4 separate regions of the Homo sapiens genome follow, and all the other regions are linked to region 2. Evidence: promoter capture Hi-C in 16 types of primary human blood cells and fetal thymus (Javierre and others, 2016). All regions are on one chromosome and are shown on one strand. Each heading gives the region's core, a stretch centred on a gene start or on the middle of the fragment in contact. The rest is flanking DNA. Distances are from core to core; before and after follow the strand shown. Region 1 overlaps APLP2 (amyloid beta precursor like protein 2). Region 2 holds the start of NFRKB (nuclear factor related to kappaB binding protein). Region 3 overlaps APLP2 (amyloid beta precursor like protein 2). Region 4 has its middle 12 kb from the start of APLP2.

The links. The method cuts DNA at HindIII sites, captures the fragments that hold promoters and counts their contacts. A CHiCAGO score of 5 or more calls a contact.
Region 1: a contact is called between a fragment that was not itself captured here and the fragment with the promoter of NFRKB in region 2, in 8 of 17 cell types (non-activated CD4 T cells, naive CD4 T cells, total B cells and 5 more). The highest score is 6.0, in non-activated CD4 T cells.
Region 3: a contact is called between a fragment that was not itself captured here and the fragment with the promoter of NFRKB in region 2, in 13 of 17 cell types (total CD8 T cells, M2 macrophages, non-activated CD4 T cells and 10 more). The highest score is 7.4, in total CD8 T cells.
Region 4: a contact is called between a fragment that was not itself captured here and the fragment with the promoter of NFRKB in region 2, in 1 of 17 cell types (total CD4 T cells). The highest score is 5.0, in total CD4 T cells.

Annotation. Positions count from the first base shown.
Region 1 is chr11:130,087,093-130,094,111 of GRCh38, forward strand. All of the region lies in intron 1 of APLP2 (amyloid beta precursor like protein 2), which reads left to right. Among named protein-coding and RNA genes, the nearest start is that of APLP2, 21 kb to the left of the region's middle. The HindIII fragment of the contact is 3,472 bases long and covers 1-3,040 here.
Region 2 is chr11:129,894,328-129,900,989 of GRCh38, forward strand. It overlaps NFRKB (nuclear factor related to kappaB binding protein), which reads right to left and starts at 1,251. Exons shown (of 27, transcript NM_001143835.2): 1 at 1,169-1,251; 2 at 32-111. It overlaps PRDM10 (PR/SET domain 10), which reads right to left. Exons shown (of 21, transcript NM_199437.2): 21 at 5,384-6,662. RefSeq lists a silencer at 968-1,407. The HindIII fragment of the contact is 7,376 bases long and covers 1-5,317 here.
Region 3 is chr11:130,100,896-130,107,992 of GRCh38, forward strand. All of the region lies in intron 1 of APLP2 (amyloid beta precursor like protein 2), which reads left to right. Among named protein-coding and RNA genes, the nearest start is that of APLP2, 35 kb to the left of the region's middle. RefSeq lists a silencer at 5,286-5,486. The HindIII fragment of the contact is 1,699 bases long and covers 4,058-5,756 here.
Region 4 is chr11:130,054,575-130,061,607 of GRCh38, forward strand. No RefSeq gene overlaps it. Among named protein-coding and RNA genes, the nearest start is that of APLP2, 12 kb to the right of the region's middle. The HindIII fragment of the contact is 2,596 bases long and covers 457-3,052 here.

The DNA.
Region 1 (7,019 bases), core at 55-2,554, 190 kb after region 2:
CTTTAAAGTTAATTATTGTAAATTAGTAATTAACAGAATACAATTACTTTTAGTTTACACTATGGCTTTTGAGTGTAAGGTGTTTGGTGAATTTTATTCTTTTAGAGTAACTGTCATCAGCGTCCTCACTGTGATACCTAGTACGTAACCTAAAGTTGAGGTTGAAGACCTGCAGTCTGCAGGCAGAATGTGACCTGTCCTTGTGTTTTATTTGGCTGTTACCATTTGACCTTCCTTGTGTCTTAAATTCAAAGTAAATATATTCATTTCCAAAGATCATGGGTTTTAATATAAAAATTCCGCTCTGGTTTTAAAGAAATTAGAACATCTGGCAGCAGGGGCTAAGTAGTGGCAGCCCCGCTTCAGTTGGTGAAGAGAGCCTGTGGTCTCTTCGAGGGGGCTGAGTATGGGTCTCCATTTTGGTCTTACCCTCTAGCTCCCCATTCCCTGTCTGTGATGTAGAGGCAGTTGAGTTTTCAACCTTTGTTGAAAACGAGGAAAAGAGAACATTGGTTTGAAATGATCTTTTGTAGTAAATATTTAACACCATGGCAGGTTTCAAGTGAACCAAAAACCACATTTCATAGCAGAATGGCCCTGCGATTGGTTGGACTCCACCCTGCCCCTTATCCTCTTCTGAAGAGGCTTTCTGTGTAATACTGTAGAATGTTTTTCCGTCTAGCCACTTCCTATTAGAAGAATGATTATTTGCGGCTTGATTAGCTTCCTCAGGATCTACATTAAAAAAAATCCTGCTGGGCTATTGTTTTGCAAGATTAATCTTGTGAATTGATAAAAGTCATTGAAACTCAATGTTGGTTAGTGTTGTTTTTAAACAATAGGAATAGTATTCAGGACAGATTAAAATCAGATTAAAATATTTTAAGTATTGCTTTTAAAAGATTAAATACAGAGCACAGACTCAAGCCTGATAAGCTCCCAGCCAAACAGTTTTTACATGTAGTTTTCCCTGTGTATGTGTAGTCAGTGAAGATGCTGAACTTGTCACAAAATGTGGATGCATGAGGCATATTATTGTAACTTGAATTCAGATGGCCCCAAAATTACCCCATTCACTCAGCATAATTGGTTAAACTTGGTCTGGGTGATATCTGTAAGTCATCAAAGGAAGGAATTTTAGGACAAGGAAAGGATGGTTTGATTGTTCCAGGGGGGAAAAAACCATAAAATTTTAAGAAAATCATTGTTCAGGGAAGGCTGCAAGCACTGGTAAGGAAACAGAGTTTTCCAATAAGTTAACTGAAATCGGGAGTAACAGACCTCTGAAGAGTCTATCTTTGGGAAAATCTCTGACTTCATTCTTGACATGATTGAGGACTTCATGTACAATGAATTAGCAATGCGAATCATCTAGGCATATAAACTGGAAGGAAATAAGAAGGTTTGTAGAGCAAGCAACACCAGATACTCATGCTTGCTCCAGAGAAGTTTTCCAGGAAAAGCAAATGTCATCTTCTCTCTCTGCTTCACTAACTTTAAATTTTGAGACCTCAGGCAGTCTAGTCCATGAAGAAAACACTCCAGAATGACCGAGATACTTAAGTTTTTAACAACATTTAAAATAATATGAAAAATAAAATAAAATGTTGTTAAAAACTTAAGTATCTCAGTCATAATTTGTGTCCTTTTTTTTCTTTTGATATTTGTTCAGAAATAGACTCCCAACTTATAATATTAATAATATACCTGTAGAAAATAGGGACGGCCTTCTTTTTTTCACATTGCACAGTCTCCCCCAGGTGGTTCTGCCTAATCTCTAGGCTTAAAATTCTTCCAGCCTGGTAATGAATAGAAAATCCTTACTTCCAGCTCACGTTACCCTCTGGAATGCCCATCCTCTATTTTTGTCTGGTGGACAAAAAACGCGGCACTTGGTAAGCTGTGAGTCCTTCCAGTATGATGCCACTCAAAACTGAAGTTTATCAGTCTCCAATCCTCAGCCCCCTCCCTACCACCCGTCCAATTTCTTTGGCTGTTAGCCTTGCCATTCTCCCAGTTGTCAGAATTAGAAAGCTGGACTCATTCCAATCCTTCCTTCATGTCCCCTGTCCAAGTATTTCTCATCTGTCACTTTCCTATTCACACTGCTCCTGCCTTTGTTCATCATCTTTTGCCTGGATGAATGCAGTGGCTTCCTAACTGGTCTCCTTTCTATACTTCATCTTTCCTGATCACACCCTCCTACCTTCCAAAGTATGCATAGCAGGGTCATGCACACGCTGGAAGGGAGCCCAAGCACACTTTCCTTGGAGAAGAGTTCTGAAGGCTCAGCCCCTCATCCTCCGTAGCTGTCGCTCTCCTGTGCCAAGTCCGTGCATGCCTCTGTTACAGCTCTTCTCAGTTGCAGCATGCTCACTGTCTCCATGTCCTCACCTCACATTCACAGCGTGCACCTTACATTGTAATCCTGTTTCTCTACATCTGGATCCTGTCTCAGAGTATATATGCTCCCTAAATACACATGTTGAGTCTTGTTTACCCAGTGTGTTTGTTTGCTAGAGCTGCTGTAACAAAGATGCCACAAATGGAGTGACTTAAGCAACAGAAATTTATTGTTTCACTTTTCTGGTTTTCTGGAGGCTAGAAGTCCCAGTTCAAGGTGTTAGCAGGACTGGACTCCTTCTGAAGGCACTAACAAAGGGCCTGTTCCAGGCCTCGCTCTTGGCTTTTGGCAGCGTAACTCCATCTTCACGTGGCGCTCCCTCTGTGTGCATGCATGTCTGTCTGTTCACATTTCGCCTTCTCAGAAGGACACCAGTCATATTGGATTAAGGGCCCACCCTGCTCCAGTATGACCTCCTCCCACTTACATCAGCAGTGACCATATTTCCAAATAAGGTCACATTCAGAGGTATTTGGGGCTAGGATTTCAGTAAATGAAATTTGAGGCCCTATTCAACCTATAAGACCCAGTGGCTAGTGTGTTGACTGACATAACTGTAAAGTAATCAAGTGAAATGATCTTTGAATAAAGGGTCAGAATTTTATTTTCTTCAAAGTTATGTTTATGACAAATAAAAGCTTATGATCTTGGGAATACTTTCCCATCTCTAGTTTTCCAGTATATTCATAGTAGCTGTTGAATTGTTGCGCGTCAAAAGATGCTGGTGGAGTATTCTAGTTCTAGCTCTGTCTTTTTTTTTTTTTTTTTTTTTAAATTTATTTTTTTATTGATAATTCTTGGGTGTTTCTCACAGAGGGGGATTTGGCAGGGTCATGGGACAATAGTGGAGGGAAGGTCAGCAGATAAACAAGTGAACAAAGGTCTCTGGTTTTCCTAGGCAGAGGACCCTGCGGCCTTCCGCAGTGTTTGTGTCCCTGATTACTTGAGATTAGGGATTGGTGATGACTCTTAACGAGCATGCTGCCTTCAAGCATCTGTTTAACAAAGCACATTTTGCACCGCCCTTAATCCATTTAACCCTGAGTGGACACAGCACATGTTTCAGGGAGCACAGGGTTGGGGGTAAGGTCACAGATCAACAGGATCCCAAGGCAGAGGAATTTTTCTTAGTGCAGAACAAAATGAAAAGTCTCCCATGTCTACTTCTTTCTACACAGACACGGCAACCATCCGATTTCTCAATCCCTTCCCCACCTTTCCTGCCCCTCCACTCCACAAAGCCGCCATTGTCATCCTGGCCCGCTCTCAATGAGCCGTTGGGCACACCTCCCAGACGGGGTGGTGGCCGGGCAGAGGGGCTCCTCACCTCCCAGTAGGGGCGGCCGGGCAGAGGCGCCCCTCACCTCCCGGACGGGGCGGTTGGCCGGGCGGGGGGGCTGACCCCCCCCATCTCCCTCCCGGACGGGGCGGCTGGCCGGGCGGGGGGCCGACACCCCCACCTCCCTCCCGGACGGGGCGGCTGGCCGGGCGGGGGGCCGACCCCCCCACCTCCCTCCCGGACGGGGCGGCTGGCCGGGCGGGGGGCCGACACCCCCACCTCCCTCCCGGACGGGGCGGCTGGCCGGGCGGGGGGCTGACCCCCCCACCTCCCTCCCGGACGGGGCGGCTGGCCGGGCAGAGGGGCTCCTCACTTCCCAGTAGGGGCGGCCGGGCAGAGGCGCCCCTCACCTCCCGGACGGGGCGGCTGGCCGGGCAGGGGGGCTGACCCCCCCCACCTCCCTCCCGCACGGGGCGGCTGGCCGGGCGGGGGGCTGACCCCCCCACCTCCCTCCCGGACGGGGCGGCTGGCCGGGCGGGGGGCTGACACCCCCACCTCCCTCCCGGACGGGGCGGCTGGCCGGGCGGGGGGCCGACCCCCCTACCTCCCTCCCGGATGGGGCGGCTGGCCGGGCAGAGGGGCTCCTCACTTCCCAGTAGGGGCGGCCGGGCAGAGGCGCCCCTCACCTCCCAGACGGGGCGGCTGGCCGGGCGGAGGGCTGACCCCCCCACCTCCCTCCCGGACAGGGCGGCTGGCCGGGCGGGGGGCTGACCCCCCCACCTCCCTCCCGGACGGGGCGGCTGGCCGGGTGGGGGGGCTGACCCCCCCATCTCCCTCCCAGACGGGGTGGCTGGCCGGGCTGAGGGGCTCCTCACTTCCCAGTAGGGGCGGCCGGGCAGAGGCGCCCCTCACCTCCCGGACGGGGCGGCTGGCCGGGCGGGGGGCTGACCCCCCCACCTCCCTCCCGGACGGCACGGCTGGCCAGGCGGGGGGCTGAACCCCCCACCTCCCTCCCGGATGGGGCGGCTGGTCGGGCGGGGGGCTGACCCCCCCCCACCTCCCTCCCGGACGGGGTGGCTGCCGGGTGGAGACGCTCCTCACTTCCCAGATGGGGTGGCTGCCGGGCGGAGAGGCTCCTCACTTCTCAGACGGGGCAGCTGCCGGGCGGAGGGGCTCCTCACTTCTCAGACGGGGCGGTTGCCAGGCAGAGGGTCTCCTCACTTCTCAGACGGGGCGGCCGGGCAGAGACGCTCCTCACCTCCCAGACGGGGTCTCGGCCGGGCAGAGGCGCTCCTCACATCCCAGATGGGGCGGCGGGGCAGAGGCGCTCCCCACATCTCAGACGATGGGCGGCGGGGCAGAGACGCTCCTCACTTCCTAGATGTGATGGCGGCTGGGAAGAGGCGCTCCTCACTTCCTAGATGGGATGGCGGCTGGGCGGAGACGCTCCTCACTTTCCAGACTGGGCAGCCAGGCAGAGGGGCTCCTCACATCCCAGATGATGGGCGGCCAGGCAGAGACACTCCTCACTTCCCAGACGGGGTGGCGGCCGGGCAGAGGCTGCAATCTCGGCACTTTGGGAGGCCAAGGCAGGCGGCTGGGAGGTGTAGGTTGTAGTGAGCCGAGATCACGCCACTGCACTCCAGCCTGGGCACCATTGAGCACTGAGTGAACGAGACTCCGTCTGCAATCCCGGCACCTCGGGAGGCCGAGGTTGGCGGATCACTCGCGGTTAGGGGCTGGAGACCGGCCCGGCCAACACAGCGAAACCCCGTCTCCACCAAAACCAGTCAGGCGTGGCGGCGCGTGCCTGCAATCGCAGGCATTGGGCAGACTGAGGCAGGAGAATCAGGCAGGGAGGTTGCAGTGAGCCGAGATGGCAGCAGTACAGTCCAGCTTCAGCTCCGCATGAGAGGGAGACCGTGGGGGGAGGGAGGGGGAGGGGGAGGGAGAGGGAGCTCTGTCTTGATGATAGAATACCACTTAGTTTGCAATACAGTTAACGTATGAATAAACTAACAAAGAACAGGAAGGGAGAGATGCCTATGAAATCTTGAAGATGGCAAACAGACTGAGCCAGCAAATCAGAAAAGGCTGAGACCTCATCTTAGCCGGGAGGAGCCAAGTAAAAGCAACCTCATTTGCAGAGCAAACTCAGATCTGAGAGATAGAAAGCACCAGGGCCTCTGAAGACATGCTGAGGCCCCAGGGGACATAGATGAAACTAAATGTGAGCATTTAGCCCCCTGAATACCCCTCCCTACCTGGCAGTCTAGGAAAAGACTTGAGGTTTACTTGGGGAGAGTGGGCCCAGCAGAAGGTGAGGGACTGAGCAGTGAAAGTCTCCCTAACCAGGCCCGGGGCAGAGAACTGACTGAAGGATTCCTCCCTGGAGAGGCAAAGGCCGCTCTTGACCTTGTGCATGTGCAGGAAACTTCCAGAAACTTCCAACCATCTTCTTAGTGTTCCCTTCTTAAATGTGAATTAGATGGCTTAGGATCACCAAAGACTTCAGGAACACCTTGAACATGAACGAGAACAAAACAAGAAGAAAAAGCAACTTGAAGGCAATGTAGGGAATAGACAAAGACAAGTTCTTACCTCAAAGGAGAGAAGAGGGGGCATAACATCTATGAAGTAATTGTTTGAAATTTAAAGACGTTCAGATAACAAAGGGTTCTTGGAAATTAGAAATGTGGAAGCAGAACTAAGACCCCAGTAGAAATCTTCCAGAAGGAGAAAACAAAAAGAAACTAGAAAAGATAAGTAGAAGGTCAATCTAGGAGGTCTAAGAGATAACTAATGAGAATTTCAGAAAGAGAATAGCAGAAACACAGGACTGTGTGTGTCCAGGCCAACAGGGCCACTGAGAGCTCAGGCCAGTGAGTGATGAAAAGAGCACACCAAGACATGTTAGGTTGAAAGTTCAGAATACCAGAGATTGGGAAAATCTTGGAACTTTTATTTTTTATTTATTTTTTTTTTTGAGACAGGGTCTCACTTTGTTGCTCAGGCTGGAGTGGAGTGGCATGATCTCACGTCACCGCAACCTCCGCCTCCCTGGTTCAAGCTATGCTCCTGCCTCAGCCTCCCGCGTAGCTGGAATTACAGGCATGTGCCACCACGTCTGGCTAATTTTTTTTGTATTTTTAGTAGAGACAGGGTTTCACCATGTTAGCCAGGATGATCTTGATCTCCTGACCTCGTGATCCGCCTGCCTTGGCCTCTCAAAGTGCTGGGATTACAGGCGTGAGCCACCACTCCCGGCCGTATTTTTTTTTTTTTTTTTTTTTTTGAGACGGAGTTTCTCTCTTGTAGCCCAGGCTGGAGTGCAAT
Region 2 (6,662 bases), core at 1-2,500:
TTCCACAAACACCACATTCCACAAATCTTACCACGCCAGGTGTCAATTTCCTTATTTGAGGAAGGGAAGCTGGACCAGGTCCTCCCTCCCGTTATTTCCAATTCTGGAATCCTGCAATGAATAATCTCTAGATGAGTGACAGTGTGAATTACGTAATACAGGTACTTTTCTTTTCCAAAATTCTCCAATGATAAAGAACAGTTCTAGAATAACTATATGTAAAATGAAGCATGTTCCACTAAATTATTTCAAGCTCCCTTGAAGAGATTTCAGATCCATGTAAAGATATAGCAGAAACTTAAGCGTTGAGTCAAGTCACGTGGGTGGTCCCCAAGCAACTGTGCCCCCTCATCACCCTTCAGCACATGGTGAAATGACATCCTCATCATGCCTATGCCTAAATAAGTGAAGCGGGTGAGACAGCACATAGCATGTGAGTTTAACAAAACTTCAAAATAGCACCAAAAAAAAATTGCAGAAGCAACCTGATGCTCAGAATAAAACCTTCTTAACAGAACTGGCATAGAACAGACTATCAACTGCAAAGTCAGTGTCCTACCTGCCTCTTAGGAGGTCTCTATACAACTTGCTCACAAGTTTCTTCAGTGACGGTGCGTGTCTAGCTAAAGTTAATCTAGTCCACTGACAACCTTTGCACTGCCACTATTCTGAACAGAATCTCAAAATACCAAAACCAGGCAGCTGCCAGGGAGTTGGACCCCGGAAGCCAAGGATTTCCAGATCTTCGGGCGTTCTGAACCTCTTCACTAGACCACGAAGGCCTCTCGGCCTCTCATCACTGGCTTTCAGCACCTGGTCTAACTTTCCCCGCTGGACCCTCCCCAACGCAGAAGCTAAACCCTCGGGTCCTTCCAGAGCAACCGCCGGCTCCAAAGCCCTCAACTCTGCAGCAAATTCCCCTCCGGTGCCAGCCCGGCTGGCCCAAGGCCCGGGTCCAATCCTCAGAACTGCACGGCTCGGCCCCGCCCCTCCCCCACGCCGTGCCTAACCCTAACCCCCAGCCTCACGCGTCGCACCGCTCCCCACGCCCCGCTCCCGCTCCCCACGCCCACACGGGCAGCGACCTCGCGGACCCAGCCGCCCGCTCCCGCTCCCTCCACTCCCAGGAGACACTTCAACCCTTTCGCCGCCCCTTGCCCGCCCTCACCTGAACCGCGGGCGCCGGCCCCCTAACCCGCAGCCCTTCTCCGGCCGCGGGCTCCCAGACGCACTCGCTCCCGCAAGGAGTCTGGGTGCGCGCACGCTCTGGGCCTGCGCGGCGGAAGGGGCGGGGCAGCGCGGGGCGGGGCCTGGAGGGTGCCGGGGCGGGGCCACAGCGGGCGGGTCCTGGAGCGGCTCGGGAGAGCGGAGGGTCGGCGAGGGTGCCTGCGCGCGGCTGGGCCTGGGGATGCAGGTTCCAGCCTGCTTGCGCGTCTCACCTGATTTAGGAGCTTCCAGAGGCCCCAGACAGTGCCTGTCTTTGCCTGACCGCGAATCAAAGTTCCATAGCCCGTGAGCGAAGGCACGTCTATTAGCTGACGTTTGCAGAGAGCATACCCTGCCCCAGGCCCTATGCTAAGCACTTTCTACCCACCGTCTTTGTGCTGCAGCCCTGTGAGCTATGCACTATTAGTGCCCATTTTACAGTTGAGGACATGAGTAGAACGCGACCTCAGCCTGTGCTTCCGAGTTCCTTCATTCCTCCTTCCCGTCCCCGGGCCCTCGATGTCCAGAAAGAATGTAAACACATCGAAGGATCACATTTTAAAGTTAAACTCCATCATTTTCCTCTTCTTAGATATGAAGGCCCCTTTCCTGTTATTCACTGGGTTTTGCTTAGTACGGCTTCACACTACTTATTCCAGGTACTCCCAGCAGTGGCGCAGAGACCATCCTCAGTTCTGTGTGTGGATGGGACCAGAGAAGCCGGCCGGCCGAGCTAATGTTCTTCCCTTCCTGGAAGAGAGTAGTTTCCAAACAACCCGATCTCTGTTCCTCTACTGGCTCCACATATGCTCTAAGTTCCTGTTACACTGTTGAGAGGCTCTTGAATTAGAAACTATCGAGTATAAATGGCAGTGGAATATCACTCTATAGTTGTCACCGATATTTCCCTTACCTTGAGATTGTGACAAGACCAGAAAGAGAAAAAGAGTAAAAACAATGTAAACTATAATTTTTGATAGACTTTGTTTTTTTAAAGTGGTTTAAAGTTAACAAAATTGAGCAGAAAGATATTTTCCAAATACTCCCCGCCCCACCTCCCCACATGCATCGCCTTCCCTTTATCAACATCCTCTACCAGAGTGGTACATTTCTTAGAACTGATGAACCCGGCCCGGCCTGGTGGCTCACGCCTGTAATCCCAACACTTTGGGAGGCCGAGGCGGGCGGATCCCGAGATCAGGAGATCGAGACCATCCTGGCCAACATGGTGAAACCGCGTCTCTACTAAAAATACAAAAATTCGCCGGTCGTGGTGGCGGGCACCTGTAGTCCCAGCTACTCGGGAGCTGAGGCAGGAGAATTGCTTGAACCGGGGAGGCGGAGGTTGCAGTGAGCCGAGATTGAGCCATTGCACTCCAGCCTGTCGACAGAGCGAGACAGAGCGAGACTCCATCTCAAACAAAAGAACTGATGAACCTACATTGATACATCATTACCCACCATCACAGTATAATGCAGAGTAATTTCACTGTCTTAAAAATCATCTGTGCTCTGCATATTCATCTCTCCCTCTCCTCTACCCCTGGCAACCGCTGATCTTTTTGTCTCCATAGTTTTGCCTTTTTCCAGAGTGTCATCTAGTTGGAATTACATAGTATGTAGCCGTTTCAGATTGGCTTCCTTCCCGTAGTAACAGGCATTGAAGTTTCCTCCATGTCTTTTCATGGCTTGATAGCTCCTATTTCTTTTTAGTGCTGAATAATATTCCATTGTGTCGATATATCACAGTTTTATCTATTCGCTTACTGAAAGATATCTTCATTGTTTCCAGGTTTTGGCAATTATGAATCAAGCAATTATGAATCAAACAACCCAGAAATCCAACCACCCACTCCAGGCATCTTTGCATGAACGTATCAAAAACACCTCAGTCCCAATGCCCAGGATCTTCCCCTTTGAGAGGCTGAGATGGGTGGATCACTTGAGCCCAGGAATTGGAGACCAGCCTGGGCAATATGGTGAAACCCCATCTCTACTAAAATAAATACAAAAAATTAGCCAGGTGTGGTGGCACGTGCCTGTAGTCCCAGCTACTCAGGAGACTGAGGTGGGAGAATCGCTTGAGCCAGGGAGATCGAAGCTGCCGTGAGCTGTGATTGCACCACTGCACTCCAGCCTGGGCAACAGAGTGAAACCCTGTCTCAAAAAAGTAAAAAGAAAAATAAAACAACAAAGAATAAGTAAGACTTTTCCTTTACCTTCATTATTAAAGGTAATAATGATGTTCTTTCTTTATATAGATCTGAGGTTCTGACTTTTATCATTTTTCTTCTCTCTGAAAAACTTAACATTCTCTCCAAGGCAGGTCTACTGGCAACAAATCCCCTTTGCTTTTGGGGGATAATTTCATGGGCTACAGCATTCTAGGTTAGACACTGCTTTTTTCTCTCAACACCTTAAACATTTCATTCCACTCGCTCCTTGTGTGCACAGTTTCTGAAGAAAAGTCATTTTTTGTTCATTTGTTTTTTGGTTTTGAAGGATTTTTTTGCATTTATCCTGTGTGTCCTCTGAGCTTCCCGGATCTGTGGTTTCATCTTCCATATTGATTTGGGGAAATAATCAATCATTATTGCTTCAAATATTTCTTCTGTTCCTTTCTCTGTCTTCTGCTAGTATTCCCATGAGGCATAGTTATACCTTTTTTTCATCATCTCACAGTTTTTGGATATTGTTTGTCTTTCAGTTATAGAGGTTTCTATTGAGATATCCTTAAGCTCAGCAATTCTTTCCTAAGATGTGTCTAGTCTACCATTTAGCCTCTCACAGCTACTCTTCATGTTTTTTTTTTTTTTTTTTTTTTTTTTGAGGTGGAGTCTTGCACTGTGACCCAGGCTGGAGTGCAGAGGCGCAATCTCAGCTCTCTGCAACCTCCACCACCCAGGTTCAAGCGATTCTCCCACTTCAGCCTCCTGAGTAGCTGGGATTACAGGCACCCACCACCACGCCTGGCTAATTTTTGTATTTTTAGTAGAAGCAGGGTTACACCGTGTTGGCCAGGCTGGTCTTGAACTCCTGACCTCAAATGATCCACCCACTTCAGCCTCCCAAAGTGCTGGGTTTACAGGCATGAGCTGCCGTGCCCAGCCTACTCTTCATTTTTTATCTCTAGCATTTTAGCTCATTCTTAGGATTTCCATCTCTCTCCTTACATTGTTTGTTATTGCTTGTTGTCTACTTTCTCTAGTAGAGCCCTTTTCATATTAATCACAGTTGTTTCAAATTCCCAGTCTGTGAATTCCAACATCTCGGCCATATCTAATTCTGGGTCTGATGTTTGCTCTCTTTCTTCAAACTTGTGTCTTTTGCCTCTTAGTATGCCTTGTAATGTTTTTCTTGATAGCTGGTCATGATGTGCCAGGTAGAGAGAGCTTCTGTAAGTAGGCCTTTAGCAATGTGGTGGTAAGGTGTTGGGGTTGGGGAAGCATTCTGTATTCCTAAAGGAGGCCTCAGTCTTCTGGTGAGCCTGTGCCTCTGGACTGTGAACTTCACGAATGCTACGCAGTTATCCCCTCTTAGATGAGGGACAATGGCTGGAATGGGCTGGGGCTGGCTATTTCCTTTCCTCCAGGTGACTGAGGTTCTGCTATAACTTCAGCAGGTTCGGTGCTTGTTATAATAGAAAGATCAGAAAGCTCTGGAGTATTTCAAAATGGTTCCTTCTCCCCTTCCTCTGCTGGAAGCATGAGGGAATTTTTCTCCAAATTTCACTGTGAGAACCTAGTCAAGCTCCTGGGGATAAAACTCACAAAAGTGTGGGTCTCCCTTGACCCCCCCTCCAGTGACTGAGTTCCCTGGAGTTTTTAACCTCTCAGATTTCTCCACGCTGAGCCTGCAGCAATTCATCAAATATAGTTCAAGTTTTCCTACCCTGGCGCTGGTTCTCATAGAGGTTATTGATCGTGGATTTTTTTCTCACGGGTTTCTGTTCAATAAGCTATGATTCTCTGTATTTGCCTGTTTGTCTTTCCAATTTTGGGGACAGCAGTTTGTCCTGTGGGCTCAACTTTCTGATGGATCTAAGGAGAGATGTTGATCTTTCCATTTGCTCAGCTTCTTACTTATTGCTAGGATGGAGGGACAACTTCCAAGCTTCCTGTATGCCACGCTGGAAACCAAAAGTTGCAATTCTTCAAAGAAAAAAAAATAGCTCTTGTAGCTTCACACATACAAACATGTTTATTAAAAAATATATTTATTAATTTTTACACCTGCTGCATAGCACAAGACTATTAACACTATAACTCACTGAATGTACAATAAATGTTCACATTTAAATAACAGGATAGGGTCAACATTTTCAACCAGTGGGTCAGCTTTAGCATCTCATGAAGTGCTTTTTAGACCTAGATATCTTAAGAGTTTTTTTGAAAGGATACTTCCAAGTCAGAAAACAAGAAGATCAAAACAATAGGTTTTTCCAGAATAACAGGAATTTTACATGATGAAATGTCTATTTCTGTCGGTACAAATCAATGATAAAAACAAAATCTACATCCAACCTACTCCAAAATACTCACACTGGACTGAATGAAGTCTACAGTGTCAATGTGTCTTGAGAGAGGCCACAATATCCACACTGGCTACATACATGTTTTCCAAATTAAGTTTTCTGATGGCTCATCATTTGCCATCTCTTCAAATCCAGGTCCTTTTAAAAATCTATGACCTTGGAATGAATGTGCAGAATACCTGATCTGAAAGCCATGCGATTTGGCTCGACTGCCATCCGCATCTCTGGCTGATAATATACAAATTAGTTTTAGAGTCTTTATTTCACTTAAGGACCAAAGAAGAAGAAGAAGAAGAAGAAGAAGAAGACAACTTAGAAGGGAAAGCAACAAAGAGGTCCTTCCACAATATTTTCCTCTGTGTATTTTAAAACTTAAAACAACTGCCATAAAATGAACATTCCATTCAGTGATTCTTTTCAGTTTTCCAATAAGTTATTCCTGAAGGGAGGGGAGATACCTTATGGTTCAAATTAAAAAGAACGTAACAGGGCCAAATTTAAGTTATAAAAGCTAAAACTGAACCTTTAGAAAATTCCACTAGTCTTCTCCTAGAAAGTCTTTCTAGACCGGACACTAGGATATTTGTAATCATTACACTGTGGGACTTAGGGAACCCGAACCTGTGTTTTGCAATGCAGGGTCAATATTTTCTGTTGAATATCTTTGTCACAAAGAGAGTCCATTTTCAGTTTCCATATGTTTATGAAGTAATTTTCTCAAGTTCTCTTAGTACTCAAACATTGGGGAACAACTACATGAACGCAGTCTCAGAAATAAAGTGCGAAATCTACACATCAATAAAGTTCTTTTAACAGAATTGTTCACTTTTCAGAAAATTGTCTTTATCATAAAGAAGCTACTCTACTTAATTTATAGAACCAGTTTTTACCCAGAAATGTAAATTAATTAACTTCATTTGAA
Region 3 (7,097 bases), core at 3,657-6,156, 210 kb after region 2:
TAGGTTTTTTCATTTTACTGCTATACAACCGGAAAATGCTTAACAAGAATCCTGCTATTTTATTAGATAGTGGTTTGAAGCTTCACTTCTCTGCTGCTGAAAAAGATACTCTTAAAGTTTCAAACTGTGGTCACTGTTTGGACAGTAAAAAAAAAATGTGGCATTTCTTACACATTAGGCTCTGGGTCAGAATCGTGATAGTCTTCCAATTGCAGAAAAATAGAATTTAATATGTGTACAATGGGGCTTTACTGTATTAGGATGTGTACCCGTGTGTTTTGTTGTTGTTGTTGTTTTTTGAGATGGAGTCTCGCTCTGTCGCCCAGGCGGAATGCAGTGGCGTGATCTCGGCTCACTGCAAGCTCCGCCTCCTGGTGGGTTCATGCCATTCTCCTGCCTCAGCCTCCCGAGTAGCTGGGACTACAGGTGCCCGCCACCGCGCCCAGCTAATTTTTTGTATTTTTTTTTTTTTAGTAGAGACAGGGTTTCACCGTGTTAGCCAGGATGGTCTCGGTCTCCTGACCTCGTGATCCGCCCACCTCGGCCTCCCAAAGTGCTGAGATTATAGGCGTGAGCCATCGCGCCCAGCCCGTGTGTTTAGAATAATACACTTTTCAGGTATTGAGCCTGTTCCGATTTTACTTACTAGTTGTGCTACCTCAAATTGTGTGTTCTCTTTTTGACAGATGAGACTCTTAATATTGAAACGATGCATTCCAGATTGAAATCTAGGCATATAATAAGCAGAATTCAAAAACACTGTATTTTGAACAAATTTTAGACTTTAAAAAAAGTTGCAAAAATACTACAAGAGTTCCCCTATACTGTAACCCTGTTTCCCTTAATGTTGACATCTTGCATAACTCGTAATGCGATGATCAAAACCAGGAGGTTTGCACTGGCACAGCACTGTTAACTGACTTACAGACCTTATTCAAATAATTGCTGCAGTTTTTCCACTAATGTCCTTTTCCTGTTCCGGGATCCTGTCCAGGCGCCTGCATTGCATTTACTTGTCATTTCTGCTTAGTCTTCTCAGATCTGTTGCAGTCCCCGGTCTTTCCTGATCAGCACCCTCAAATGTCTCATTGTGGATGAGATTAATGTAGGTGTCTGATGTGTGTCTCTGCTCTCAAGTAATTGTTTTCCCTTTTGTAGCTAATATCTTTGGGGAGATACCTTGAAAGGATACTGAGAACAGAATTTTTTTTTTTCACTTCGTTCAGTTTAGTAAATCTTTGGTGAAGGTTCATGAACATAAATTTGTTCTAATTTGTGAACCTTGAAGTACTTCAGCGCTTGAACAAATATGAATGAAAATAATATATAGGATTTTCGTATCTTTTAACAGATGGTCCTTTTTTACTGACTTTTCCTTAAAAAAGGTTTTTGAACAAGAGCGTCGTACCTTTCGCTATCAGTAGTTTGCTAGTGGTAACTAGATGCCTCGAAGGCCTGCTTCATTCCGCGTTTATTAGAACTAGAACTGTGTTACATTGCCTTCGCAGGGTGAAACTTGAATACTCGTGTGTCTCATAAAGCCGGATTCCTTTCAAAGAGACCTGATTCTTCCACTAGTGGGATCAAACCATGTTCATGGGAAGATGCTCCCTCTATGGCAGGCACCTTCAGAAGCCCTGCAGCCAGATTTGATCCTGGAATAGTAGCTTCAATGAGGGCAGAGATAACTGGGTGTGCACGTTTGCTTTGGAGTGAGAGGACTGCCTGGTCCTGAGGGCTTTGTGAAGGGAGGTAGGCTTAGATGAGCCCAGGAGTTGCATCACTTGAGGTGATTAAAGGCCCTGATTTAAAGTAGGTTGAGACTTAGATTTATTTAGATTTACATATTTATTTCCTTAAGCCATTTCAGGTTTTCGACCAAGTTACTAGAAGCACTTTTTACCAAGTTGAATTTCTGTCCTTGGATTGCTAAACTGTTCCCCAAGCCAAATTAATAAAATGGAATTTCTTATTAAGAATGAATTATTAAGCAAAATGGAAGTGCTGGGCTAGGGAAGCAGTTGATGCAATTTGTTTTCCAAGCCTTAAAAGTGCTGCAGTATGCATAGATCACAAGGACTGGCTTCAGTGCCAACACATGGGGCATTAATTTTTTTGGTAGAGGATTCCAGGTTTACAGGATATCAGAAGTGCTGACTTGGCAGCAAAATCCCATTTGTAACATGTTAGATTAGGAAACAGATTGATTTATATGTTGATGTAATGGATCAAGGCACAGTCTGTGCTTAAGGAAATGGACAGCACATTAAATAAGGGCATTTTCAAGGTAGAAGTACAAACATTACAGAAAAAATTAGCCTTTTACACCCTAGGTAGGGTTGGGGTATGTTTGATTAGTTGACTCCTAAAACATGGTCCACAGAGGCTTTTTATATTTCCGATGATACCTTCTTGAGAGTCTCTTAAGACCACAAGGATTAATCTTTCTGAACTCAAAAGTGAATCACTACAGCATATTAGCTGTCTGGATTGATTCCAGTTTCTCTGCTTTTTCTTGGTGGTAACTGATGTGAGGATCTGTTGGTGCTTAGCTGCCTCTTCCTGTTGCTTTAACCTCTGGTATTTTAAGATTCTCTTTAGGGAAGATAGTACTGACCATCTCAGCACAGAGCCGAAATGCACTTAGCGCTGATGTGTTGACCTTAGTGGTTGACCCATAAACTGAACATTTATACAGTTGGAACTCTTGCGGTCTTTTAGCCAACAACCATAATGAGTAACATGTGGAACATAATCTTTGGTGCTGATAAATGGCTTTTTACGATGAAATTGACCATTCCACGCTGTGGCTTGGGTGACCTCATGTAACTAATTACTGTTTCTTAGCTATATTCACTTTTGGAATTTAAGGGGTAAATGGTTTCTCCTTCTGCAGGCTGAACTGCTGACAGATTAAATACCACCTGAAATCTGATTTGTTTAGTAGCTGTCTTTAATGTAAAAATATAGAAGGCCAGAGGGAATCTAGGAAACACTGCTCAGAAGCTTTCAGACTTAACTATAGGAGTTCATTCGTAGCAGGTTTAGGAAGCACATTCCTTCCGACCTGTAGATTGGGCTTTTCATATACGTATTTATCATGTCTTCTTGGATTTTCTTCATTTAATTCTATCTGAACTTTCGAAGTGGGAAGCAAAGGATTCGGGGGAGAGCACTGGTTTCAGTACACGAAAATATCCCTGGGGTTTCCTTACCTTTATCTTTGGATATCCCCATTTTTCTCGACACACAATCCAAGTTTCTAGCCATAATCCTTAGATTACAAAAGAACAGGACTTTTGGTACACATCTTTTTTTTTTTTTTTTTTTTTTTTTTTGAGACAGATTCTCTGTCTCTGTTGCCCAGTCTGGAGTGCAGTGGCGCAATCTCGGCTTCACTGCAACCTCTGCCTCCTGGGTTCAAGCGATTCTAGTGTCTCAGCCTCCCAAGTAGCTAGGACCATAGGCACGCGCCCCCATGCCTGGCTAATTTTTGTATTTTTAGTAGAGACAGGGTTTCACCATGTTGGCCAGGCTGGTCTCGAGCTCCTGACCTCAGATATCCACCTGCCTCAGCCTCCCAAAGTGCTGGGATTACAGGTGTGAGCCACCGTGCCGGGCTTGGTATGCATCTTGAACTAAGTGTGAAGATTAAGCACATCTGTCTTGTGCATCCTTTATACCTTTTAATGATTTGTTTGAATTAAGCACCACTAGAGTATTACCTATGAATAGGTGTGTGTTCCTTCCTACACATATCTTTAGGTGTTTTTTCCTTCTTTGGGGGAAGCAGGAACTCATATTAGTCTGTAGCTTCACGTGCATTCATACTGAAGGCATAGGGCCTTCTACTTTAATAAATGAATATTCGTTCCAGCAGGGTAAAGTCAATTCTAGTTAATAAAGGTGCTAATTGTTTGTTGGGTTTAACTGAGGTGTTTTTCAGCCCTGATAGATATTGGCAACATTTTAATTCCAAATTAGCTTTCTCCCAGCTGTCCAACAAGGGTTGGTGCTTCCTTCTCTTATACTAGTAGAAAGCAGGTTCATTTTAATAAGCTTCGAAGCAAAACATATGTCAGATGGTAAATTGGTCCTGGAAAAAGACCATAATATATTTCACAATCAAATTTAAGTTACTGATTAGAAGGATTGTTCATGTCTGTGTAGTTCATCAGCATAAATAAATTAAAGTTTCCTAGAAAATCATACATTTTCCACATATTTTAAAAGTCAGCTAGGCGTAGTATCTCATGCTTAGGATCCCAGTCCTTTGGGAGGTCAAGGCAGAAGGATCACTTGAGCCCAAGAGTTTGAGACCAGCGTGGGCAACACAATGAGACCCCATCTCTACCAAAATATAAATACGTGTATACTGGGTGTGATGGCGCATGCCTGTGGTCCCTGCTACTCAGGAGATTAAGGCTGGAGGATGGCTTGAGCCCAGGGGGTCGAGACTGTAATGAGCTGAGATTGCCCCATTGCACTCCACGTGGGTGACAGAGCAAGACCCTGTCTCAAAAAAAAAAGGGTGGGGGCATCAAAGCTACCCTTTCTTGTTAGTAGGAAAACCATGTCATGTATATGCTGTTTTTGAAAAGAACAACATGGTAGACCATATAATCTAACCCTCCTCCTCTACAAGTTTTAACTTAAGAACTGTTATTTGTTTATTTATTTTAATTTTGAAGAAAGTTTTGCAGTTGGGGACTCTTATGGCTATAACCACGAGTAATGGATGTTTTTAGAGAGATGCCTGTGCTTGTCTCTCTCTTTCTCTCTCTCTCTCCCTGTCTTTCTGTCTGCTTTTTTTTTTTTTTTTTTTGAGATGGAGTTTCGCTCTTGTTGCCCAGGCTGGAGTGCAATGGTGTGATCTCTGCTCACCGCAACATCTGCCTCCCGGGTCCAGGCAGTTCTCCTGCCTCAGCCTCCTGAGTAGCTGGGACTACAGGCATGTGCCACCACACCCGGCTAATTTTGTATTTTTAGTAGAGATGGGGTTTGTCCATGTTGGTCAGTCTGGTCTCGAACTCCCGACCTCAGGTGATCTGCCTGCCTTGGCCTCCCAAAGTGCTGAGATTACAGATGTGAGCCCCCACGCCCGGCCGATGCCTGTGCTTTTCTCGTGCATGTCTGCAGGAGCCTTGCTGTTGTAATGTTACTTCTCAGCTATAGCTTCTGAGCTGTTAATGGTTAGACTGCACATAAAAGGATATGGGCCAAAGACAGATCTTATGGAATAGTTGATTATTTTTACCCAACATGAGAGAAAATTGTTCATGAAATCCCCTTTAGTGTTCTGTGTTTATGAATGATGCCATCACATTTTGAATCATGGGAGCCAAACTTGAACCTTCCTCTTCCTCATCCCTCATATCAGTTATCACACCTAGGCCTATTTTAGGCTCTGTGGTTTCTTGAATCTCTCTATCCACCACTCCACCTTAGCCCAAGCTACCATTTATTCCTCTCTTGGAATGTGCACCTCCAGTGTCCTGAATGATTTCCCTGCATACACTCATTTCCTTTCAGTCGGTTCTTCACCGTGCAACTAGAGAAAGCATCAGAGCTTTGTTATGAAAATAGTAACTTTCTGCTTAAAGCCTCTCAACACTTCAGTGGTAAGGACTGAAGTCCTTTCTTGGTCTGCAGACTCTTGTCCCGGCATGCCTCTCCCACCATCTCTCTGCCTCAAAATCAACATTGCCTCCATATGGGATGCTTAAAGCGCTACTCAGCTGTCACTCTCTTTAGGAAGCTTCCTTGATCAGCTTCCTACCCAAGCTTAGGTCAGATTCCTTTTTTTTTTTGAGATTTGAGTCTTGCTCTCTTGCCTAGGCTGGAGTGCAATTGTGCAATCTCGGCTCACTGCAACCTCTGCCTCCCGGGTTCAAGCAGTTTTCCTGCCTCAGCCCCCTGAGTAGCTGTGATTACCGGCATCCGCCACCACGCCTGGCTAATTTGTGTATTTTTAGTAGGGACGGGGTTTTGCCATGTTGGACAGGCTGGTCTCGAACTCTCGACCTCGTGATCTGCCTGCCTTGGCCTCCCAAAATGGTAGGATTACAGGTGTGAGCCACCGCGCCCGGCCCAGATTCCTTTTTTATGTGCTTTCTCAACACTGTGTTCTTTTCCTTCTTAAGACATTTGGGAATGTGGTCACACTTTTTGTGAGTTTTAACTCTTGCATTAGAGCCCCAAGAAAGCAGGTCATGACTTTTTTGCCCACTCTTATATCCTAAACACTTAGCATGTTGCTTTGCGAAATAGTAGTTGCTCAGAAAATTTTCTTTTGTGGGTAAATTAAGTAAAATTATTGGAATTTTAGTAATTCTCCACTTTCATGATTTGGTGTGTGCAAAGGATTAGAAAGTAGATTAGCTTTTACGAGGACAGACTGCAGTTGGATTATATGTTCTAAAGTTAGAAGTATCCCAGATGGGGATTGAGGGTTAGATTTTTCCTTTGCCTAAGTCTCAGGATACAAAATCAATGTGCAAAAATCACAAGCATTCCTATACACCAATAACAGACAGAGAGCCAAATCGTGAGTGAACTCCCATTCACAATTGCTTCAAAGAGAACAAAATACCTGGGAATCCAACTTACAAGGGATGTGAAGGACCTCTTCAAGGAGAACTAGAAACCACTGCTCAATGAAATAAAAGAGGACACAAACAAATGGAAGAACATTCCATGCTCATGGATAGGAAGAATCAATATTGTGAAAATGGCCATACTGCCCAAGGTAATTTGTAGATTCAGTGCCATCCCCATCAAGCTACCAATGACTTTCTTCACAGAATTGGAAAAAACTACTTTAAAGTTCATATGGAACCAAAAAAGAGCCCGCGTTGCCAAGTCAATCCTAAGCCAAAAGAACAAAGCTGGAGGCATCACGCTACCTGACTTCAAACTATACTTCAATGCTACAGTAAGCAAAACAGCATGGTACTGGTACCAAAGCAGAAATACAGACCGATGGAACAGAACAGAGCCCTCAGAAATAACACCACACATCTAAAACCATCTGATCTTTGACAAACCTGACAAAAACAAGAAATTGGGAAAGGATTCCCTATTTAATAAATGGTGCT
Region 4 (7,033 bases), core at 505-3,004, 160 kb after region 2:
AGGTCGCAGTGAACCGAGATGGCGCCACTGCACTCCAGCCTGGGCAACAGAATGAGACTCCATCTCAATAAATAAGTAAATAAATAAATAAAATATGTCCTTGTATTTCCTCAAGGGAATGGTAAAAAAGGAGGGTGAGCCATTTGAGAAACCAAGGCAGAGATCTTGGATAACACATAAAGTAGATGAATGGTGGAGAGCTGATTTTTTGTTTTGTTTTGTTTTCATCAGACACTGAATTTAAATTAGAATTGACACATAACATAGCGAGTATAGAAAACAACAGAAATCACAACTGAACCCGCCCATCAAAATTTATAAAGAACTAAGCAAATTGTCATATAGATAAAGAATCAGATGGCGACCCATCCTTTACTTGTTCTTGAGGGCAGCAATCCTTGGGTCTGCAAGCCCTGCACATTTTGTCACTGTAAATTCAACCTCATACGTCCTGAAAGCTTCAATCTTAATTTATCTAGGGCAGCAGCCAAGAGCAAGATTAAAAACAACTACTGCAAGAATAACTTCTCCTTGCAAGGATGGGTTATTGCTCCATACATCAGTCTTTATGACTTGAAACTGTTACAATCTTTTTATTTGGTGATGTTAGCTTGATCTTGTGATATTCAAGTATCACTTATCCTCACCTAATATGTCACTTCTTGACACATGTGCTGTATAGTTTATCTTTGCTGTTCTCTGTGCACTTCAGTGTAAATAATTTCTGTTAGCTCTGAAAGGTTGCACATAGAGTGAAATCTCAGTGATTCGAGGAATAGGCATGCATTTTTGAATTGGTGCTTGTATTAAATATTCAATTGTGTCTGCCTCTCATAGTCTGTTTAGGAGCAATATCTTACTCTTTAGTTTCATTCCTAAATACTTTTTAGTATGCATCTCAAAGGGAAAAAAAGAATATTTTATCATATAATTACATCTAACATCATTGTTAGATGATTCTCAAGATGAATGTAAATTCCATAATATTTTACCATGACCATGTAATTTAGTGTGAGACTACCAGCAAGTACAGGTGACAATGACTCTGGTTTTCTGAAAAGATCTGAAGCAAATCTGGCCATTCCAAAATTAGCAGTATCTGAAGGCGTGATGGTGGTGTTAGTCACCACGTAGTGATCAGCGCCTTGCCTCATCTGCAGCTCATCTCAAAAAGGAGTGAAATACCACTTGCTACACTGGATCTGGAAACAACTCAAGTCATCGGCAGCCTCCATCATGTAAATGTAACAAGGGACTTAAAAGCTGATGTTGGGATGAATGTTTCTGGACTGCTGGATGCAGAACTCTTTTTATCTCAAAATAGTACAGACATCATCAAAAGTCCCTGTAGGGCAGGCATCCAGGAGCCGCTTTGAATGCTGCTGACTGTGCTTTTAAGGAGTTGTGCCAGAAATGTGATCATGAACAACTTCTCATAAGAAGTCGGGATAGAGAGAGCCACATGAAAGGGTCTCCAGAATGTGGATACCAAGTCACTCTTTGAAAGTAAAGCTACTGAGAATTTGCATATACTTTTAAAATTTTTTATTTTTATTTTATTTTAATTATTTTGAGACAGGGTCTTGCTCTGTTGCCCAGGCTGGAGTGCAGTGGTGCAATCATAGCTCACTACAGCCTTGACCTCCGGGACTCAAGTGATCCTCCCACCTCAGCCTCCCATGTAGCTGGAACCACAGGCATGCACCATTACACCCAGCTAATTCTTTTTTTAATTTTTTGTAGAGATGTGGCCCAGGCTGGTCTTAAACTCCTGGGCTCAAGCAGTCCTCCAGCCTCGGCTTCCCAAAATGCTGGGATTACAGACGTGAGCCACCATGACTGGCCTACCGTATACTTTTTTCAAGTAATCATCTGCAGAAGTAGTGGTGAAAATGGGGGAAACAGTCATTTCCAACAAATGGACGTAAAATATGTGGTAATGTTTAAGCAGCATGTGTCTAGTCTAGTACGTTAGACAGCCAGTTCTGAAAGGAGGAAGACCTGGGTTCAAATGCTGTTATTTCCACCTAGTTGCTACGTAATGTGAAACAAATTATTTAGTCTCATTAAGCCTCAGAGAGGCCAGGAGTTTGAGACCAGCCTTGCCAACATGGCGAAAACCCATCTCTTTTTTTTTTTTTTTTTTTTGAGACAAAGTCTCACGTTGTCTCCCAGGCTGGAGCATTATTCCATAATGCCCAGCCAGAAGCATTATTCTTAAGAGCCAAAAAGTGGAAACAACTCAAATGTCCATCAGCTGCTGAACAGACAAATTAAGTGTGGTCTAGGCTGGGCACAGTGACTCATGCCAGTAATCCTAGCACTTTGGGAGGCTGAGGTGGGAAGATTGTTTGAGGCCAAGAGTTTGAGACCAGCGTGGGCATAGCTGGGTTTAGTGGCGCATGCCTGTAGTCCCAGCTACTTGGTAGTCGGAGGCAGGAGGGTCGTTTGAGCTCAGGAGATTGCAATGAGCTATGATGGCGCCACTGCACTCCAGCCTAGGTGACAGAGCAAGACCCCATCTTAGAGAAAAAGAGAGAAATGTGGTCTAGCCATATGTTAACAAAAGGAATACTATTAATATTTGTCGATAAAAAGGAATAAAATAGTGATACATTGTACAACGTGGTTAAATCTTGAAAACATTACGCTTAGTGAAATAAGCTAGTCACAAAGACCGCATACTTCTTGATTCTGTTTATATGAAATGTCTGGAAAAGGCAAATCTGTAGATACAGAGAGTAAGATCTGTGGTTGCCTAAGGCTCGGGGAGGGAGCGTTGGAGGGAAATGGGGAATGGTTCCTAATGGGCACAATACTTCTTTTGGTGTGAAGAAAATGTTCTCAAATTTATTGTGGTGATGGTTGCATAAGTCTGTGAATACACTAAAAACCATTGAATTGTACACCTTAAATGGGTGAATCATATGGTGTGTATGTATCAATAAAGTATAGTATATGTTAATAAAGCTGTTATATGAAAAACAAAACAAAACAAACAACAAACCAGGAATAGACCTTGGGGTCTCCCCAAACCTCTTTTACCTTATGAAGCTTTGCCTGAGAAGTAAGCTGGGCTCACTCTCTGGCATTTCTTTTTCTTTTTTTTTTTTTTTTAAAGATGGGGCCTCACTCTGTCACCAAGACTAGAGTGCAGTGGTGTGATCTGGGCTCACTGCAGCCTCCACCTCCTGGGATCAATGTTTCAGTCTCCCAGGTAGTTAGAACCACAGGTGCACACCACTATGCCTGGCTGATTTTTTTTTTTTTTTTTTTTTTTTTGTAGAATCAGGGTCTCACTATGTTACAGCCTTCCTGGGCTCAAGTGATCCTCCAGCCTCAGCCTCCCAAAGTGCTGGGATTACAGGTGTGAGCCACCACATCTGGCCCTTCTTATATTTCTTAATTAAACGAACACCATCAATAAAAATGAAAAAACAATATGATATATTAGTTTGATCTGCATCTTACCTTCAACTCAAAGATTTTCAAATTTAATTTCAAATTTCAAGGTAATTTAAATCTGACGGGTTTCATAAATGCTACTTAATAAACATATATTCAATAATGCACAGAATAACACAGAGAAGCAAAAAATAAGGATGCTGGGAAGGACATTTAGGAAGCAGGGGGAAAGAGTAACTTGTGGCTAGCCTGGCAGTAAGATCTAAACTAAACTGAGTGTTGGGAACTATAGTCATTAACACTGTCTACTGCCCACTTGACACCCTTTCCCCAACTCCCCCTTCCTATTTGATTTTGTTATCCACCCCTCCCACACTCCTCCCACCCTCAATTCCTTGGGAGGTCCCAGTTGGCTGAAGGCATCCAGCGCATTTTGTTTGCGCCCCGTCTTCTTACCTCCGTTCCCTAGTTACTGACTCAGGGGTGAGTATGTGACCCTGTTCAATCAGAGAATGTCAGGACTCCTGTTGGGAAGGCTGGGCGAGAAGCTGTTTTTTCTTCTGGATAATTTCCTGTGCAGATGTAGGATGAGACCTGCAACTATTGTGAATGATCTGCCATCAGCCTGCAGGTGAAGCTTTCCCAGGAGGAGCAAGAGCATCACAGAGCCGTGAGCTGAGGTCCTGACGGAAACCATGCCTGATCCCTGCCCCTTTAGGCTTTTCCAGTTGTGTGGGTCAATAAACACTATTTTTCTTTCGATCAGGTTGAGTAGACATTTCTATTATTTACAGCCAAAAACATCCTGATGAGACAAGTGCTCCCTATAATTCTCATTAATTCATTCTAAATGAGTTAATATCTGCTAAGGCGCTTAGGACAATGCGTGGCATGTAGTGAGTGCTAATGAGAGTTATAGTTACTGTCATCGATAAAAGTGTTACTGTTACAAAATGAAGACAATAATGACTGCCCTGTCTTTTTTTTTTTTTTTTTCTGAGATGGAGTCTCACTCTGTCATCCAGGCTGGAGTGCAGTGGCGTGATCACAGCTCACTGCAACCTCCACCTCCCTGGTTCAAGCAATTCCCCTGCCTCAGCTGCCCAAGTAGCTAGGATTACAGGTGTACACCACCACGCCTGGCTAATTTTTTTTGTATTTTTAGTAGGGACAGGGTTTCACCATGTTGGCCAGACCTGTCTCGAACTCCTGACCTCAGGCAATCCACCTGCCTCGGCCTCCCAAAATGCTGGGATTACAGGTGTGAGCCACTGCACCCGGCAACAAGGTTTTATTTGTTTATTTATTTATTTATTGTTGTGACAGATTCTTGTCTGTCACCCAGGCATCATCGTGCCACTGCAGCCTTGAACTCCTAGACTCAAGGGATCCTCCCACCTCAGCCTCCCAAATAGCTGAGACTACGAGTGTGCACCACTGTGCCTGGCTGTTATTTTTATTTTTAGTAGAGACGGGTCTTGCTTTGCTGCCCAGGCTAAGTTATTGTTGATAAGATCAAGAAAGACAAAAGAAAAGTGAAAGATTACTCCCTCCGTTATAAACGTAACATATATCCATTATAGGAATATTTTTTAAAGAATAAAACAATCACTTATAATCCTATTATCCAGAAAAAAATATGTTGGTTCATTTTCTTTCAGTCGACTTTAAATGCATAAGAGAAATTTTTCCACATATGCAATTCCTACTATGACTTCTGAAATTTTAACACATCTTATAAGCATTTTTCCATAATTTATTCTCATTTGGATTATTTTCCTAGGATGGATTCCTAGAAATGAAATAAGTGAGTTTTACATGGTTCTTTTAAATATGAAAGGAAATGATGGACACAAAACAAATTTGAAAATTCAAAAGCGTCATACAAATATGAGCTTCTCTTTCCCTAAACTTGCACTGCAACCATAAATAACCAACCAGAACTACCTACTGTCCTGTACCAAGCCCTTATTATATGCTGTATGCTGAGCTAAACATGTAAGCATTTTATCCATTATTCCACTTAGTCTTTCTAAGATGCCTGCTAAAAAGCTGATGATATCCCATAGCTGTCAAGTTAAAGGACAAAATCATTGTCCCTTAGGAATCCTCTTCTCTCTCGTCATTCTTATATGGCATCATGCTACTTCCATGTTAATACCCACACAGATGCCTTTGCCTGGCTGAGCACCTGTTCGCCACAGCCACCTTCTTTGTCCAGGTGGCTCCCACCTTTCCAAACTCAGTTAAAGCATGTTTTCCTTTGAGAAGTTTTCCCTGTTATCCTAACACTTTTAAATGCTGAACTAAGAGCCTTTACTAAATTGAGATTAGGAAGCACAAGCAAAGTATATTGAACATAGTAGGTGCCAAATAAATATTGAATTAATTTTTTTTTAAGAGACAGGGTCTGCTGTGTTGCCCAGGCTGGCCTCAAATCCTCAAATTCCTAAGCTCATGCGATCCTCTCACTCCAGCCTCCTGTGTAGCTGAGGCTACAGGAGTGCTACCACATCTGACTCTTTAATGAATTATTATTACATGAACTTGGTGTAGATATCTCATCAGGAAATGTTGGTTACATTATTAATAAAATACACATTGTCCAGAAAAAGAATGAATTTTCTGGGTAGTTTGTGTTTAGTATGTGAAATATTGTGTTCAGTTTTGGATTCTATACTTTTAGAGGCTGATTGGTAAATTGGAATGTATACAGAGATCTAAGGATGGTAAGAATGGAAACAGTATTACAAGTAAAATGGTTAAAGAAGTGAATCTGTTTATTAAAGAAAAGACTTTGTATGGCCAGGCTTGGTGGCTCACGCCTATAAATCTCAGCACTTTGGGAGGCCGAGGTGGGCAGATCACTTGAGGTCAGGAGTTCAAGACCAACCCGTCCAACATGGCGAAACCCCATCTCTACTAAAAATACAAAAATTAGCCAGGTGTGGTGGCGCGTGGCTATAATCTCAGCTACTCAGGAGGCTGCGGCACAAGAATCACTTGAACCCGGGAGGCAGAGGTTGTAGTGAGCCCAGATCACACCACTGCACTCTAGCCTGGGCAACAGAGCAAGACTCTGTCAAAAAGAAAGAAAGAGAGGAAGGAAGGAAGGAAGGAAGGAAAGAAGGAAGGAAGGAAGGAAGGAAGGAAGGAAGGAAGGAAGGAAGAAGGGGAAGGGGAAGGAAAGGGAAAGGGAAGGGGAAGGGGAAGGAAGGAAAGAAAGGAAAGAAAGAAAAGACTTTGCGGGTGATAGTGGGGGTGTGCAGAATGGGGTATGACAGCCACCTTTAATTATGTGATGAAGATTAGTTCAATAAAAAGACAAAATGTCCAGCCAATGGAGCTGTGAACTTCTCTGTCCTTCTATTGTAGTAAATGACTTCCACACCAGGCAGAAAGATGACACAAATACCTTCAAACTCTGATGTGGGGCATGTCAAGAAAGCAGTTTTACATCAGCTTTTCTGAAAAGCAAGTACCATGTAAAAATCACCAACGATAAGAACTTTTAGTATAAGCAGCTCCCAGCGCTGAGGTTTTTTTCACCATTATTTTGTATTTTCTGCACTGAAGGCAGAAGAAATTATTCAAAGAAGGACCAAACAAGAATACCAAACAACGTAGC